2 separate regions of the Homo sapiens genome follow, and region 1 is linked to region 2. Evidence: promoter capture Hi-C in human tissues and cell types (Jung and others, 2019). All regions are on one chromosome and are shown on one strand. Each heading gives the region's core, a stretch centred on a gene start or on the middle of the fragment in contact. The rest is flanking DNA. Distances are from core to core; before and after follow the strand shown. Region 1 holds the start of CEACAM4 (CEA cell adhesion molecule 4). Region 2 holds the start of CEACAM3 (CEA cell adhesion molecule 3).

Evidence for each region. The method cuts DNA at HindIII sites, captures the fragments that hold promoters and counts their contacts. A contact is called where the count stands out against the background at its distance.
Region 1: a contact is called between the fragment with the promoter of CEACAM4 here and the fragment with the promoter of CEACAM3 in region 2, in 1 of the 25 tissues and cell types used here (H1 embryonic stem cells).

Annotation. Positions count from the first base shown.
Region 1 is chr19:41,625,824-41,631,145 of GRCh38, forward strand. It overlaps CEACAM4 (CEA cell adhesion molecule 4), which reads right to left and starts at 1,251. Exons shown (of 7, transcript NM_001817.4): 1 at 1,077-1,251; 2 at 1-137. The coding sequence starts at 1,140. The HindIII fragment of the contact is 12,628 bases long and covers 1-5,322 here.
Region 2 is chr19:41,794,323-41,800,281 of GRCh38, forward strand. CEACAM3 (CEA cell adhesion molecule 3) reads left to right here and starts at 2,265. Exons shown (of 7, transcript NM_001815.5): 1 at 2,265-2,419; 2 at 3,267-3,626. The coding sequence starts at 2,356. The HindIII fragment of the contact is 7,198 bases long and covers 1-5,959 here.

The sequences.
Region 1 (5,322 bases), core at 1-2,500, 170 kb before region 2:
CCAATAATAGGCTTGAATAGTTTCTGAAATATTGCAGGCCAGTAGAAGAACATCCTTTCCCTCTGCAGCACTGGACGGCAGGGCTTCAATAGTGAACTGGACAGTGGTGGGCGGGTGCCAGAAGGTTAAAAGTGAGGCTAGGAGGTGAAGACAGCATCAGTCAATACTGGGACCTATGGAGTGGGATGGAAAGATAAGGCCCTGGGTCCTCAGCAGGTCTCCTCATCCCTCAGCCTTGGAGTGTGTGTGTGTGTGTGTGTGTGTGTGTGTGTGTGTGTGTGTGTGTGTGTGTGTGTGTGTGTCCCTGGGTCAGCAGCATGACCCCCATTCCTTCAACAGCTTGGACCTTGGCATTTCCCTGGTGGAATCTTCTTCCCCAGGGGTCTGCACGGCTCCCTCCCCACTGCCCTCAGATCCTGCTCACATCAGGGTGTTTTTGGGAGACCCCTCCCCTGACACCTCCTCTAGAGACCCTGGGTCTTCCCTTTCTGACCTTTCCCAGCTCTGTTCCCTCCAGGGCTCTTGTCAGCACCTGACCTCACATTCTAGATCTCTTTAGGTGTTTGTCTTCCTCCCCATGAGAGCGTGAGCTCTGTGAGGGCGGGGACTTGTGTGATCTTGGTTGCACCCCAGTGCCTGGCACAGGCTGCAGACTCCTGTAGATGAGTTCATGAGCATTCTCAGGGCCTCCAAGTCCTGAGGTTTATTTCCCAGTGTCTGAGGTTGTTGGCTAAGAGCAGTGTTTTATGCCCTGGTTATGTTTTTATTTGAAGTGTCATCTGGTATAGTTATTATCATTTTTCAAAATGTAGTGGCCAGTGATGATTAACCAGGACGAGAGAACACTTGAGATTTTCCTGCCTTTTACCAATTCCAGTTCACTGAGATTTTCCTGTTGTGACCCCTGCCCCTCTCTGATGTTCTCTCCCTTATCCAGCCTCCAACAGAGGCCCTCAGTCCCCTCTCAGAGCCCCAGGAGACCCCAGCCAGAAGCCCTCTATCCCCTCCTACCCAAGAGACCCCAGTCAGTCTCTGTGCTCCCTCTTCCCACCACTCCCAGAGAGTCCTCCCCTCACCTGTGATCAGGAGCCCCTGCCAGGGCCTGTGCCCTCCACGGGGAGCGGCTGAGGGGGGGCCCATGGTCTCTGCTGCCTGCTTGTCCTCTGTGGAGAGGAGCTGGGCTCCAGGAACGCTCTTGTCAGAGCTGCTGTGACTGTCGGCTGTCGGGGCTGCTGACCTTCCTCCTTCTGTGCTGAGCCTCCTCCCGGGCAGAAGCACTTCCCAGGGCCAGGGGCAGAGGCGGGGCTCTTCCCAGGTCACCCCTCTGCCCCTCCCCTCTCATTTCTGCCTTTTTTGTCCCTCCTTCCCCTTTCTCTTCTGTGTACATTACAGTTTCCTAACCACACTTTGAGAAGCAGGGTTGGTGGAGTCCCCTGTCCCCAGAGAGGGTGACTTGTCACCCCTGCACTGACCCTTTGGGAATGTCACCACAAACAGAGGTACTCTGGGGTCTCCCAAACTTGGGGAACTGTTTCCTTTTGTGACACAGAGACCCAGCTGGGCCCCCAGGTCTCCTCATGCTCCCCAATACTCAGGGAGTGTGAGATGATACCCAGCAGGAAGGTGACAGAGGTGGCTCTGTGGGATAGAAAATGGGGGGCGACTACGGGGGGGACCAGTCCTCTCTCTCCAGTGTCACCAGCCTTGCCTCTGACCCAGGGACAGAGATCCAGGCCTGGGGGTCTCAGGAGGATCCCCAGCTCCTGGATGTGGAGGGAGGTGTCCTGCATGTCCTGGGAAGAGAGGACTGTGGTGGAGGGAGGTGGGTGGCTCTGGGTTCTGCTGTCCTTGAGGAGGGATTCAGGGAGATCCTCCCTCTCCGTTTCTGTTGGCTGAGCTGTGGCTTAGGGCCTGTGCATGTTCTCCCTTACCATCCCGGGTGGCCTCTGTCCTCTGTGAAGGTGATTGTCCTGTTGTCACTGTACCTTCCCCATGCATGATACCAGGAGAAAGTGGAGAACTGAGCAGAGAATCCTGGCAGAGCAGGATCCTCAGAGGCTCCAGGAAGGATCAGGAGAGACAGAGCAGGCACATGGGAGGGACTGGAAGGGCCTGCTGGAGCAAAGTATGGAAACCAGGCTTCACCTCCACCTCCTTAGCAAAGCCAGATTCCTGTCCAGGGGAATCCATTTCCTGTGTTGTCTGCGTGCAATGTTGCCCCTGGAGAGCAAGAGGAACCCTGTGGTAAAAGTCAGGGGCTTCCCCAGGGATGCTGACCAGGGTCCACGTGGTATGAGTTGGCCCTGGCCCCTGGGCAGAGGTGGGCTCTGACCTCCAGACTGCAGGGTCAGGTCATCCTTGGTCCTGTTCACTGTGGGTCCCCAGGATGTCCAACTCCATGCAGTGCAGGATGAGCTCAGGGAGAGGACGAGAGTTGTCCAGAGCACTCCTGGTCCTGATTTGGGAGAACTGTCCTGCAGGCGGATGGGCTGCCTCAGAAAGAGCCATCCGTCCCCAAGGTTTCAAAAGAAGGGCCCAGGGAGGTGTCTCTGGGGGTTTAGAGAGAGGGCACTGGCCTGGGAGGTGGTCCTCGGTGTGTTCTGTGTTCCTCCATCACAACACTGGGAGTTCCGCCTCCAGGTCATCTGTGTCCCTGTCTGTCACCTGCCCCAGGCCTCTCCACAGGGCCCAGGAGCTGGGGCAGCTCCTACCTGCAGGCTGCAAGGGATACCTGGTTCCTGTATTAGAGCAGGGGAGGCCCCGTGACCCTCAGTCCCTCTGAGATGGAAACAAAGGCAGATCCTGGGTTATCCTGTCCCCTCCTGCAGGAGAAGTTCCCCTGGATCCCCTGGTGAAATGTCTGCAGGGACCATAGGCAGATGTCCCAAATACTGGGGATCTCGAGGCTGGGGAATCACTCCCTGACTTTCTTGTGGTCATTCTGCCCTGGTGGAAGATCCACCTGGGATCGAATATCCGGAGTTTGTGTCAGTTTTGGTGTGTTTGTGAGAAAGACATATGTTAGAGCCTGGAGGGAATGTCAGTGAATGATGTCAGGGAATGAATTGGGTTTGCCCCTCACTGTTAGAAAGACCCTGAATTCCCTCCCGATGCTACTAGGGTAAAAGCCATGTTCTTATGCTCATTTCTCTAAGGAAATGCAAATAGAGTTTATTAAGGCGTTTCTGGCCAACTAAGGTGGATTTTGTCATGTAGACACAATATAGACCATAATACATGTACATATGCAAAAACACACCTAAACACATATCCACAAACAAATAAAAATCTTACAGCTTTCATTTTAGAATTTTAGTGATGAGATAGTAATACAAACTCACTAGTTGATTAAAGTCAACTGGATCCAATTGTATTTCTGACAAATTGGAATCGTTAACATGGATAAACTTTATTTGCCCCTATAGGTAATATAATGAAGGCTGGGGGAAATATTTTGGGTAAAGCAGTTTCTAATGGCAGTGTAACTTATAAACAAATAAACAAATGAAACCTCTACAGTTTCAGCATCTTTTTTTTTTCTGTTTCACATGAGTTTAGGATTAAATTTTCAATTGCTTACACTTTAGCTAGAACTGGCTGAATTGTATAAGAAAAAAAAATCTCCAACTAGCCTTAAACTAGATTTTTTGTGTGGGTTGGAGGGGGGCGGGTGGTGGTGATGTGGTTTGCTTGATTAACAAATGTGGATGAGGAAGGATTTTAGCTTTTTTTCCTGGCTTTTTCTTTTTTGCCTCTGCATGGCAAAAGAAGAAAAAAGTTTATGTCGGACAGAGACACCTTAAATTATTGCTCTGAGTTCAAGATTTTGACCTGTATGATCTGAGAGCCTAACTTTTATAACCATGTATTTTTTTAATTATTGATTTTTAATTGTGCTCCATTATAAGCAATTATTAGTTAGACAAACTTAAATTTACATTTCCTAAAGGTGTCTAAGTTGTTTCTTATCATGGAGTTGTTTAATTTGTAAAGCCATTAATTTTAAAGCCCTTCAAGATTTCTTTTTTAAAACTCTGGGCTAGAATGCCATAAGCAGTGAGTTTTATCTCAACACCAGTAGAAAAGTCAGCAGATTCAAAGTAGGTAGAGAAAAAAAAATAGAGAATTTAGAAGACTCTACATTTCCACCCTATAGATGCAGGGCTTTTTAAAACAGGTTGAATGATGATCATTGAGTACTGAATTTTCCTTGATGTAATTTTGCTCATAAACTTTAAAATGTGCACAAGAAAGAACCATAAAATGTAGCCAGCTGGAGCCCCAGAAAACCTGGCATGCCTTAATGCTTGAGAGCCCCATTCCATTTCTTATTAATCTCTTGAAAGTGAAGAAAATTTTACAAATCCTGCCAGAGAATGTCAGGCATTTGTACCAGTGTTTTAGATGGTGGCAACCACGCTAGTGGCTGTTAATTAGCCATTTTGTGCCCGTCATTTAGAATGTCTATTTTTTTGTGTTCTGGGATGATTTTCAGAAGCAAGCAAGGGGAAAAGAGTCAAACCAAATAAAAAGAAATCCAGATAAGAGCATTCACAAGAATTTTAACCCAGGCATGCAGATTTTTAAAGTATTTAAATTAGGCACACAGGCCAAAATGGAAGTAAATTCACCAGAATAGACTTGCCTCACAGGCAGAATGTAAATTTTGTAGAATCCAGAGTACGTGATCTAGAAAGATATACGCCTTTCTCTCAGAAAGGACTTGCTAGAAAAGACAAAAAGTTTTTTTTTTTTTTATCATCCCAGGAGAAATGTATGGTCTTTTACTAAGGCAGCCTTATCCAAATCAGATTCCAAATAAAGTCAAGAGCTTCTACCAAAAAGAGGCTCTGCTTGAGCAAAGACTTGTCAGGGCAGGAAAGGTGAGTGTGGAAGCAGAGAGCTCAAACTTCTCAAGTGAGTAGTGCACACTGGTTCAAAGATCACAGATTTCTTCTGATAGTGATCTTTCCCAGATCCCACTTCTGACACCATATATGGTAACAAACAGAGTGAGGCTTTCTATGAGAAACTGATGTTTATTTGGGAGTAGCACATTTCAATGGAAATGCATGTGCCATAGTAAAATGATCTACATATTCGAGTTTTTAAAGGAAAAAATTGGGATTATTATCTAGTCATTTTGAAAAAAAAAAAAAAAAACTAGCTACAAAGATCAATAGCCAGAATGATGCCACTGTGAGGTTCTATAGGCAGTTGCTGGGCAGATGTCCTTGCAGAAGTAGTTTTCATATAAGGTTGTGATGGCCTTTGTATAAACTTGTGGCTTTTGCAGAGTCTTTTGTGATAGTTTTGTTATCA
Region 2 (5,959 bases), core at 1,015-3,514:
TCCCTCTCTCAGGACCTTGATGCTTTTGAGGAGGTCTGGTCAGTTGTTTTGTAGAATGCCCCTCAATTTGGGTTTGTCTCATGTTTCCTTGGGATGTTTCAGGTTATGCATTTTGGGCAAGATTAGCACAGAAGCGATGTGTCTTTCTCAGGACATCCCAGCCGGAGCCCCAGGATGTCTATATCTCTCATTACCGATGAGGTTCACTTTAAGCGCTTGGTTCAGGTGGTGTCTGCCAGGTTTCTCTACTGTGAAGTTACTATTCATCTCATTGTAATTAATAAGTATCTTGTGGACAGGTACTTTGGAAATATGCAAATAGCCAGTTTGTTCTTAGCATACTTTTACCAATTAATTTCTAGAATCCAGAGATAATTGTAGCCGATAAACAATTCTTACTGTGGTGTTAGCCAGTGATTTTCTGCTTCCATCATTGCTTCTACACTGATTAACTGGAACGCTGCTGTAAGAAAGAGCTAGTTCTTCTTTCTCATTTATTTATGTATTCACTTATTTATATATATATCAGCATGGACTCTCAAGTATTTATCGGTTGGACTACATTACTATTATTATTGATTATGTTGCTATATTGTCCCCAAATTGGCCATTGGGAGCTTCTTCTAGTTGGCATTTGTGATACTTTCCACACATCCCCATCATTTTTCAAGTTGTGCCTTACTCTCAGGCCCCGCAAGATGCTCCAGTCTCCTCTTGTGGTTTCCTGCCCCAGCCCTGGAATCAGCCATTTCTCCAGGGAACCCTGGTTCCTTTCATGGGAGAATGATGTTTACAGACCATGGGCGCCCATATGCCCATTGCTAGTAGGTGCCGGTGCTTCTATGCCCTCTAGTGGTCAGAGCTGGGAAATAACACACCCACACTAGTGTACTGTTACCCACATTTCACAAATTAGGTAAATGAGGCACAGAAAAGTTAGGCAACTTGACCAACATCACAGAGAAAATAGGTAGTGGAACTGGGAAATGAAAATAATGACAGATGCACCACAAGTTCTAACAAGCAAAAGTAGCTTTTTCACACATCCACATCAGCAGAAAGCCACAAGCCCAATATTCCGGCGTAGACACTCTTTGAAAACCAGAATTCCACAGCAATAACCACGATGACAACCACCATGTACTCAACACCCGCCTGGGCACGGGGCTCCCACAGCAGCTCACTTATTCCCAACAACTCTGCAAGGAGGATTTTACCATCCTCCTTTTACAAATCAGGGAATCAAGGATCATAGAAGCCACGTGACTTGTCCAAGTCAACATAGTTAAGTGACAGAACCATTAGCTGTCCCCAGGTACATCTGGACATAAAGTTCATGTTTATGCCACTGTGTCAGCATTTCCAAAAACTGATTTTAGGCGAAACGTAAGTAAGCTTTTTAAAAACTTTAATACTTATGCGTTTATTTTAATATACATTGAGAAAACATTTAAGCACACATCAAATCTGTAATTTCATGGACAATATTGCATAAGACAAGGATGTTTTGTCTCCAACTCCTGGCCTCAAGCCATCCTCCCACCATAGCCTCTCGAGTAGCTGGGATCACAGATCTGAGCCACCGATCCCTGCTAGGACAGGATGTTTTGTAAACTAAATTTATTTAGAAAAAAGGATGAAATATATAATAATAAAGGTGGTACAAGCTAGAGAGAAAATCATAAAGTCAGCCTAGAAATGTCTGGTGTCTGGATGACATAAAGCTACAGCACTGTGAAGCCTCATTCTCAGTTACTCCCAGGAAATTAGAGTCACATAATGCTGCAGAAAGAACAGCTCAGAATCTTAGATCCGGGCTTTAGCCCTAGATATATCCATTTGTAGGACCCCAGACATCTCTGTGACCTCCTTGCTGGGAGTAAATCCAACCTTCCCAGACATGTGAGAACAGTAAGAAGACCCTGCACACACAAAGGAGTTTCTCCGTCACAGAGAAAATAACACCAGGTTCAGGGACCCCAGGGACTCTGCATGGTGCTGACAGACCCAAGGCCAAGGCAGAGCAGAGGTCCACGCTGGGGAGGGAGGGTCATCCTGTTATGAAACAGGGATCCAAGTAAGCCTTGCTTCTCAGAGCCTGGTCTGGGGAACTCAAATGTAGACAGAAGGGAGAAAGGAAGAAGAGAAAATGAGGCAAAACTGAGAGGGGAGGGGACAGAGAGGTGACCTGGGCAGAGCTTCACCCATGACCCTGGAAAGTGCTCCTGCCCTGGGAGGAGGCTCAGCATGGAAAGAGGAAGGACAGCAGAGCCTAAGTCACAGTAGCCCTGACTACAGCATTCCTGGAGCCCAGGCTCTTTTCCACAGAGGAGGAAAGAGCAGGCAGCAGAGACCATGGGGCCCCCCTCAGCCTCTCCCCACAGAGAATGCATCCCCTGGCAGGGGCTTCTGCTCACAGGTGAGTGGAGGATTCCTGGGAGTGGGCAAGAGGAGGGATCACAGAGAATGGCTGGGGTCTCCTGGGGAGGATGGGGCTCTGATAGGGGACAGAAGGCTTCTGCTGAAGCCTCAGGGGAGAGAACATCAGAGAGGGACACGGGTCACAACAAGACAATCACATTGAACTGGGATTGATAAGAGGGAGGAAAATCCATTGATCATGTTTTCCAAGTTAATCATTACTGGCCACTACAATTAGAAAATGATAAGAATAAGAATTACATCAGGGTGATACTTTAAATAAAAATATAACCAGGGCACTAAAACCTGTCTTTGACCACCAACCACAAGTTGCAAAATAACCACCACTCCTTAACTCATCCACCAGTATTTGCAATCAAATTTTAGGCACTGGCGTACAACAAATATCAGACAAGTCTCTGTGTTCAAAGAGCTTACACTCTTGCAGAGATGAAGATAGACACCCAAAGAGATCTAGAATGTGAGTTCAGGTGTTGACAAGAGCCCTGGAGGGAACAGAGCAGAAAAAGGTCAGAAAGGGAAGACCCAGGGTCTCTAGAGGAGGTGTCAGGGGAGGGATCTCCCAAGGATGCCCTGATGTGAGCAGGATCTGAGGGCAGTGGGGAGGGAGCCATGCAGACCCCTGGGGAAGGGGATTCCACACAGGAAAATGCCAAGGTTAGAGGTGCTGAAGAAAGAAAGGTCACGTTACTGACCTTGACCAAGTGGGACACACATACACTCTCCAAGGCTGAAGGGTGAAGAGACTCTCTCAGGACCCAGGGCCCCATCTTTCCATCCCAATACATGGGTCCCAATATTGACTGATGCTTTCTCCCTCCTAGCCTCACTTCTAAACTTCTGGAACCCGCCCACCACTGCCAAGCTCACTATTGAATCCATGCCGCTCAGTGTCGCAGAGGGGAAGGAGGTGCTTCTACTTGTCCACAATCTGCCCCAGCATCTTTTTGGCTACAGCTGGTACAAAGGGGAAAGAGTGGATGGCAACAGTCTAATTGTAGGATATGTAATAGGAACTCAACAAGCTACCCCAGGGGCCGCATACAGCGGTCGAGAGACAATATACACCAATGCATCCCTGCTGATCCAGAATGTCACCCAGAATGACATAGGATTCTACACCCTACAAGTCATAAAGTCAGATCTTGTGAATGAAGAAGCAACTGGACAGTTCCATGTATACCGTGAGTATTTCCACATGACCTCTGGGTGTTGGGGGTCAGTTCTACTTCCCACATATGGGATTGTCAGGCCTGGGCTGTGCCTGTGGCCCTCTCTGCATTACATTCTGTATCAGGGTTTGGACATTTAGTGCAGGACACACACGGGGGAGACAAACTTCCACAGATCAGAATTCCTTTCCTGCATCCAGACCCTGCAGACACTCGCTGCAGAGGAAGGACAGTCTGATGGGGGGACTCAGCAGGGCAAGGTCAGTGTCAGAAAAGAACCCCATGGTCTCCCCATGGACCTGACCCTAAGAAAGACCCTGGAGAACTGGATCAGGGCCTGGCCTGAGGGGTCCCCCTAGGATTCTCAGAGAGAAGCTCAACTCTTCCCAGAACTGAGCCCCTGTGCAAATCCCTGTCCCAGATTCCTGACTCCAGGTGACCCTGGGGACCCTAGGGATCCTGTGCCAGGGCTGAGTGAGGCCTCCTGGGCAGGGCTGACTGGGAGCAAGAATTTACCAGCTGTCTGAGGGTCGTGGCTCCTGGAGTTGGTCACCAGCCAGGGTCCAGCCCCAAGAACCTCTCCTGGGCAAGGACAGGGCCTCATCCTTTACCTGAGACTCAGCATGGAGTGAACAGATGGACAAGATTACTAGGGCATGAGCCCACTGCCCAGGGGAACTTAGATGACTCCATGGGAAGTTCAGTATCCCCAGGGGGAGGAAAAAGAAGAGAGAAGATGCTCCCAGCAGCTCCTTTTCCACAAGGGATCAGACTCAGGGACCTCTCTTTTGGAGGCAAATAAGCATAGATGCTGTTCCTTTGGGCAGCTCCTCTATACACAGCTGAGGTCAAGTAATTGTAAATATTTTGAGATTAATTCACAAACAACGTCACAGCCAAATAGCACTTATCCTACTTATTGAAAAAAAAAATTGAGGAACAGGGAGACAGTCACCGACTAGGGTCACACAAGTCAAAGGTGTCAGATTAGAGTCACACGAGGTCTCTCTGCAGCCACAGCTGCCTCTTCTCCACCAGGGGACGGCTGGCGTTATTATTAGACATCTGCAGGCCTGAGACCAGTCCTAAGTTCTCTTTCCTTTTTCTTGGGCATCCACATCTCAGAGGGGGAGATTTTGGTCTGGAGAGTAAGGGGCAAATGGAAAATTAATCAATTTTTCCTGATATAGTTTGGATGTTTATCCTCTCCAAATCTCATGTTGAAATGTGATCCCCAACATTGGAGGTGAGGCCTGGTGGGAGGCGATTGGATCATGGGGGGCTGTTTCTCATGAGTGGCTCAGCACCATCCCCTTGGTGACAAGTCAGTTCTCACTTTGAGTGCACAGGAGATCTGGTTCTTTAAAAGTGTGTGGCGCCTCCACACTCTCTCTTGCTCCTGCTTTTGCCACATGACACCACCTGCTCCCCCTTCTCCTTCCACCATGATTGTAAGCTTGCTGGGTCTCACCAGAAGCCGAGCAGACGCTGGTGCCATGCCTGTATAGCCTGCAGATCCCTGCATCAATTAAATCTCTTTTCTTTATAAATTACCCAGCCTCAGACATTTCCTTATAGTAACAAAAAATAGCCTAACACATTAGCCTAACCTAGAACTAAATCCCTTGTGTCAACAGAGTCAGTGCCAGGAATGTCCGGGCCTCCCTCTCAGATGCGCACCACTGCCCTCACTCGACCTGAAATCCTGTGTTTCCTGATGTGTCAGTGACACTCCCACAGGAGGATAAAACACTCCCCACTCACACCCTGCACCAGCGCAGGGCCCAGTGAGAGACACACACTCAGTAGTTCTCTGACGAAGGAGGGAAGGAATGAATGATGAATAATTCTTAAACTCTTCAGAGACCGGATCTTGGATGCAGAATCCTATAAGGTTCTGGCCACACCTGTTTCCTGTCCCTCCAGGGGCCGGGATCCTTGTTGCATTCCTCTAACCCCTGCCCCTAAAGCTACCCCAAGAACCGCATCTCATGGGACTCTGGCACAGCTCACCTGTGGGAAGGTTTTCAGGTCTCCCTGGTCCTGGTTTGTGGGCGGCAGGTCACCCAGGCGCCGAGGCAAGAGACCAAGGACACGAGCTGTTCCAGTATAATAAAATATAAAACAAGAAAAGTTATACCAGATATAGATCTTAGATATGATTATATGTGAATATCATTAATCATTAGTTGGTAGCAATTACTCTTTATTCCAGTATTATAATAATCCTCGCTCTATAATCACAACCTAGGAAAAGCCAGGCCATACAGAGATAGGAGCTGGGGAGACATAGTGAGAAGTGACCAGAAGACAAGAGTGCGAGCCTTCTGTTATGCCCAGACAGG